Linked DNA regions of Homo sapiens: region 1 is linked to region 2. Evidence: promoter capture Hi-C in 16 types of primary human blood cells and fetal thymus (Javierre and others, 2016). All regions are on one chromosome and are shown on one strand. Each heading gives the region's core, a stretch centred on a gene start or on the middle of the fragment in contact. The rest is flanking DNA. Distances are from core to core; before and after follow the strand shown. Region 1 overlaps GK (glycerol kinase). Region 2 holds the start of TASL (TLR adaptor interacting with endolysosomal SLC15A4).

The links. The method cuts DNA at HindIII sites, captures the fragments that hold promoters and counts their contacts. A CHiCAGO score of 5 or more calls a contact.
Region 1: a fragment that was not itself captured here is called in contact with the fragment with the promoter of TASL in region 2 in 2 of 17 cell types (neutrophils and monocytes); the score reaches 8.4 in neutrophils.

What each region holds. Positions count from the first base shown.
Region 1 is chrX:30,696,448-30,699,559 of GRCh38, forward strand. GK (glycerol kinase) reads left to right here. Exons shown (of 21, transcript NM_001205019.2): 8 at 170-236; 9 at 1,285-1,302. Among named protein-coding and RNA genes, the nearest start is that of GK-AS1, 20 kb to the right of the region's middle. The HindIII fragment of the contact is 1,633 bases long and covers 1,046-2,678 here.
Region 2 is chrX:30,575,554-30,579,054 of GRCh38, forward strand. It overlaps TASL (TLR adaptor interacting with endolysosomal SLC15A4), which reads right to left and starts at 2,213. Exons shown (of 3, transcript NM_025159.3): 1 at 2,085-2,213; 2 at 1,199-1,313. RefSeq lists an enhancer at 2,235-2,444. The HindIII fragment of the contact is 8,514 bases long and covers 1,578-3,501 here.

The DNA of each region.
Region 1 (3,112 bases), core at 612-3,111, 120 kb after region 2:
TAAGAATACAGCTATGTTCTGTTGGCTTACGTATTTATTGCTATCTAACTCCATGCTCAAAAACATCCATTTCTAATTGTTATTTATGCTTTTTGCATTTAAATACATATAAATGTTTCTAGATGTCTATTTAAAACAGTGTTAAATACCCAATCTTCTTGTTTTTCAGATTTTTTGGAATTCCAATGGAAATTCTTCCAAATGTCCGGAGTTCTTCTGAGATCTATGGCCTAATGGTAAAAAACAAACAAACAAACAAAAAACACACCAAAAAACCAAAAAACAAACAAAAAAAAACCTAATAATTAAAGTTTTTTTATTACAAAACAAGTTTACTATTCATAATTCAAAAGTCAACTGTGTTATGTTTTGTGACTTAAAAACTTTACAGTCCTTTTTACAATGGATTTGCATTTATAAACTTTAATTGGTTTTTCTTTGAGTATTATTATTTTTAAAGAATTGATGGGATACTCTAACTTTAGATGTTGGCATGAGCCAATTTATTCTTTGAATCCAAATAACTGTTTAGTGGTTGTGATGTCTGCTTTTAATTTAGCGGAGAGACTCTGCATATTTAGTAGTGTTCTTTTTCCCGTTGAATCTTTTTTATGGCCAAGCTATGTTATATATTAGATTCTTTGCCTGAGCAAAATTTAGCAAAGAAACTGAAAGCAAAGAGTCTGTTTCTGATTTGGGATTGCTAATTAAACTAGTTTCTGTAATGGACATTTTTACTTTTGATTTCACTGAAATCCAGTAAAGACATAGCTTCAGCAAAAGTGTGCCTAGCATCATTAAGAGTCTGTGGTTAAACATCAGGAATGAAAACCTCTAGGAGGATTTGCACTGGTGTTTGAGCACAAAAATCTGGAATTTATGATAAGACTCAGGAATAAGTCTGATAAATTACAAAAAGTATTGCTTAGACATTTCATGAAAGATATGAGAAACTTCACTTACAAAGTTAATAATAATATAGATGAACACTAAGTGCTCTGGATAAAGCTTGAGCAAGAATTTTTAACTGTTTTATTTATAATAAAGCTTTTTAAGGCAACATAGAATTTCTTAAGGAAGCCATAGTCACTGCTTATCTACAGTAAAAGTGCTTTGATCATTTCATAGCTGTCTGCAAACTGACTTGGGTCAAGGAAAAAGAAACGATGCTTGAGAAATAGTTTCACAGGATGGTTAGAAAAAAAAACGTGGAACTGGCCTAGTTTTCTCTTGTATTTAAAATATTATGCTTCTATCCTTCTCTCTCCCCCTTGCTGACTATAGAAAATCTCTCATAGCGTGGTGAGTAGGTTGCCCGCCAATTATGTACCCATTCATTTGGAAAAGATACAGTGCACTTCCATTTATTTTTAGACAAGCAGAAGTCCATTTACTAAACATATATATCTAGAATTTCCGTGACCTTCCAAATTATTATAAGCTCTAGTCAGATTTTAATTTTTACAAAAACTTAATCTTGTTTGTTTTTAAAGAGTAATGTTCTAAAATAAAAGACTAAGGTAGTTTCCTGGAATGAGAGATTCTGATATTCTCATAAAGTACAACTGTGATGTGCTTTGGGCTTTACCATAATAGGGCAATTAGATAGATACAGTTTGAAATGTCTATTTTAAATGATATATTGACCACCTTTCCAGACCAGTTAGTTGGAAATGCACTGTTACTTTTTCTGCATGCTTCATCAAGGATGCTCCAGGAGGAGCATCAGAGGTCCCTCCCTCTGAAGAAAAAAGAGCACTTTACATGCCTGAACACACATAGTAGATCCTGTTGATAGTTTGTTAATTTTGAAAGTATAAGCAAAGACTTCTTGTAATACTTAAATATATCAAGATATATAGCCTCTAGGTTTCCTATAGATTCACTTTAAGCCTTTTATGAAATTTACCCTTTACTTAATATCCAGGTTCAGATTTTCAAAGAATATATACAGTAAATGAAAATAGCAGGTTTTGCTGGGCACGGTGGCTCACGCCTGTAATCCCAGCACTTTGGGAGGCCGAGGCGGGCGGATCACGAGGTCAGGAGATCGAGACCATCCTGGCTAACATGGTGAAACCCCGTCTCTACTAAAAATACAAAAAAATTAGCCGGGCATGGTAGCGGGTGCCTGTAATCCCAGCTACTTGGGAGGCCGAGGCAGGAGAATGGCGTGAACCTGGGAGGCGGAGCTTGCAGTGAGCCGAGATCGCGCCACTGCACTCCAGCCTGGGCGAGAGGGAGACTCCGTCTCAAAAAAAAAAAAAAATTAGCCGGGTGTGCTGGCACATGCCTGTATTCCCAGCTACTCGGGAGGCTGAGGCAGGAGAATCACTTGAACCCAGGAGGCGGAGGTTGTGGTGAGCCGAGATGGTGCCATTGCATGCCAGCCTGGGCAACAAGAGTGAAACTCCATCTCAAAAAAAAAAAAAAAAAAGAAAAGAAAATAGCAGGTTTTGAATTAACCAGAAAACAAGAAAGAAATAAAATGATACCAGCTATCTAGAGGACATTTTCTATTTTGTAAAGGGTTTCTACATTTATGCTATTATTTCTTCATTATCATAGCTATGTGAGGTGAATTCTATTCTTGCCCTCACTTTAACAGACGGGATATCTAAAGCTCCCAGAGCCTGGGAGACTTGCTCATACATGGCAGACCAAGGAGTCAGGTCCAAAGCTTTAGTTTGGTGCTCATCCTAGTACATCACCCCTACTTCAGGGATTTTATATATATATATATGTTTTATATATATGTTATATATATACATGTTATATATACATGTTATGTATAACATGTTATATATACATGTTATGTATAACATGTATATATACAACATGTTATACATAACATGTATATATATAACATGTTATATATATATATACACACATACGTTTTATATATATATATACACACACACTTTTTTTTTTTTTTTGAGACGGAGGCTCACTCTGTCACCCAGGCTGGAGTGCAATGGCATGATCTTGGCTCACTGCAACCCCGCCTCCTGAGTTCAAGTGATTCTTCCACCTCAGCCTCCTGAGTAGCTGGGATTACAGGTACCCGCCATCATGCCCGGCTAATTTTGGTATTTTTGTGGAGATGGGGTTT
Region 2 (3,501 bases), core at 963-3,462:
TTCTGTTACAAATCATATAATTTGGGATTATCTATTCTTGTATCAAATATGAAGTGATTCTTAACAAATTAATTTCTGAAAGTATAACTTTATGGCTAAGATAATACAATCATAAATCAAAAGCCCTCTCTTCTTCATATTAATATTACCAAGTAAATAAATAATTTTTTGTTTGGTTCTGCTTAGATTCTTATGACCAAAGTTAATGGCTACTTCCAAGGACGATCTGATGTGTGAATTTTCTTAGTTCAGAAAATGTAAACTTTGGTGCAGAAATATTAGTAAATATATTTTATCATAGTTTGGATTTTTCTTTATACTCCTTCTTGATATAAATTGAAAAATTAAACCTTTTGGATCATTTTTTGAATCACTTTCAATGTATTTTGATGCAAAATGAGAGGACTAAAAAAATAAGAAACCTATCATAATAGTATTGTACTGATATAAATTTCTTTGGTGTTATAATTGTTAATCATTGTTAATCATGTTAATTATGCCAATTTCATTAACATTTACTTAATTGTAGGCATGTCAACTACAAATGCAATGCAAGATTCTTGATTGGATCCTGGATTTAAAACATAAAAAGATTCTAAAGGACATGTGGATAATTAGGAAAATTTGAATGTGTATCACATCTTAGATAATAGTATTGTGTTGATGTTATGTTTCCGTGGTGTTGTAATGTGTTATAGAAGACTGCCTTTATTTTTAGGAGATACATGCTCAAGAATTTAGGGGTGACATGTGTCCTAAAGTCAGCAACATACTTTCAAACCATTCAGGGAAAAAACTGTGCATATGTGCATGCGTGTGTGTGAATATATATATACACATATAGAGAGAGAGAAAAGGACAGGCAGAGACAGAGAAAGACAAAGCGAGAGAGAAAGTAAATGTGGCAAAAAGATACCACTGATTAATACACATGATGAAAATATGGGTGTTCGTTGTACTATTCTTTCAATTTTTATATAGATTTGAAACATTTCTAAATAAAAATTGGGAGGGGGAAAAAACCATATTTAGTTAATGAAGGCATATTTACATTGTATAATGTTTATTAAGAGCCTAGAGGGACAATATCTTATATATCTAAAATAATCACTACATATGAGATGAGAAATGTCTCAGTGACTTGATATAAATACTTCAAACATCATTTTGCTCTGAGATAATAGAATTAGTGTACTACCTTTGAATATCTCCAAAATTCCACTTATGATATGGATGTTTGACACAGACTTCAAATACTCTTCAATCCTCCAGAAGCTTCTCAAGCTCAGAAACAATCTTCTTCTCACACTGACCTATGCAAGAAATGTTATAAAATATCAATATAAATATTCTGTCCAAACCAGGTCTATATTTAAGCACAGATTCATATGCGCAAGACAAAGAATGTTTGAGCGAGTCTAAAGATAATTCAAACAAAACTCCACTCGTACATGCGCTATCTTTAATACCAAAAGGGAAGCTTTCCCCAAATCACCCAGATGAAAGTCGAAAAGCATCCTCACTATAGATCGCATTCATTTTGAATACATCCTGCCACACAGAAAAACACTATCACAAGCTTGCTGAACTGAATAATTGAGAGTCAAATCCAATTGGAAAGGACTGTGATTGTTTTCGTCTCTAAAACTGCATCACCGTAACTGAATTCAAGAGCTGTGTTGTCCCTGCAAAACCCTGCTTAGGTTTTTAGGCCTTCTTTTAAAAATGCAGAAGCTAAACCAGTGTGGCAATTAGTGAAAGAGGACTGCAAAAATAACACAATAAATATTTGCTCAGATCAGTCAAAAATTGTAGGTAAAAATATAAGTGTTTTAGAAATGCTTAGAATGTGGACACGAGGAGGTAAGGAAAGGAAGTATTGGGCTTAATTTCTCTTTATTTTTCAACTCCACTGAATGCTTGTTTAAACTCCCACTTGTCTCTGATATGGTAAGCTAGAAAAGCATTTTAGATGTCATAAGAATGGATCAGCGCTCTCGTGATAAAGGGCTAAGAAAGCGTGAGAAGACAGATGACAAAAAATAATAGCGGAGTTCTAGGGTCCTTTGCTTTCTTTTTCTTACCTTCACTAACCAATCTGCTCATCTGATCCGGCAGAAACACAGCAACTGACCAAACAGAGAGATGAACAAGCCAGCCAATGCTCTTTCCAGAAATTTTCACAAGCCTTTCACTGATGAGACCAGTAGACTGAGCTGCTCAGTGCAAAGCCATTCTTTTTATAATTGGTCCCATGGAAAAAGAGTTGTTTTTGTTCAAGTCCGATTTGTGCTAAAGAGGCAGTGGGAAGTCCCGGGAGGTGGGGAGGCAGTAACTGACAAAGCCACATCAAGCCACAGAATGGTGTTTCTTCCCCTTTTTCGAAAAATGAAACCTATCTACGAAACTGTCTCTTATTAAAATAGTTTATGGTTACACATTTTGTAAGAACCCTAGCAACAGAATTAAATTTCCTTTCTAGAAAAGTACATTATCTGGGATCCTTCACCCAAAAGAAAGCCAAAGTCACATATGACTTTAGGAAATTCTGTTTCGTTACTAATCTATAATTTTTAAGAAGTATTATTTCTCAATGGTACTTATAATTTTTAAAAATGTAAATGAAAAAAATTTTCTCGGCCGGGCGCAGTGGCTCACGCCTGTAATCCCAGCACTTTGGGAGGCCGAGGCAGGTGGATCAGGAGGTCAGGAAATCGAGACCATCCTGGCAAACACGGCGAAACCTCGTCTCTCCTAAAAATACAAAAAATTAGCCGGGCGCGGTGGCGGGCGCCTGTGGTCCCAGCTACTCGGGAGGCTGAGGCAGGAGAATGGCGTGAACCCGGGAAGTGGAGCTTGCAGTGAGCCGAGATCGCGCCACTGCACTCCAGCCTGGGCGACAGGGCGAGACTCCGTCTCAAAAGAAAAAAAAAAGAAAAAAGTTTTCCCTCTCCAAATACCGAAGGTCAAAACAATAATACATGGTGTGGGCAAAGTTGTGAAGAAACAAGCACTCTCAAACACTACTGATGAGATTGTAAACATATTTAGAGGGCAATTTCCCAGTATCTCTCAAATACAAATATTCATACCCTTTGACCCAACAATTGTATTTTTTATAAATTTGTCCAAGCTATATGTTTACACTTGTACACAAAGACTTATGTGAAAAGATATTTGTTGCAGCATTGCTTGAGAAAATAAATGACTAGAAAAAATTATATCCATAAATAAGATATTGGCCAAGTAAATGAGAACGTATGCATACTTAAAATCCTATGTAGGTTGTGTGCGGTGGCTCACGCCTGTAATCCTAGCACTTTGGGAGGCCGAGGCAGGTGGATCACTTGAGGTCAGAAGTTTGAGACCAGCCTGGCCAACATGGTGAAACCTTGTCTCTACTAAAAATACAAAACTTAGCCACGCGTGGTGGTGGGCACCTGTAATCCCAGCTACTCGGAGGCTGAGGCATGAGAATCCCTTGAACCCGAGAGGTGGAGG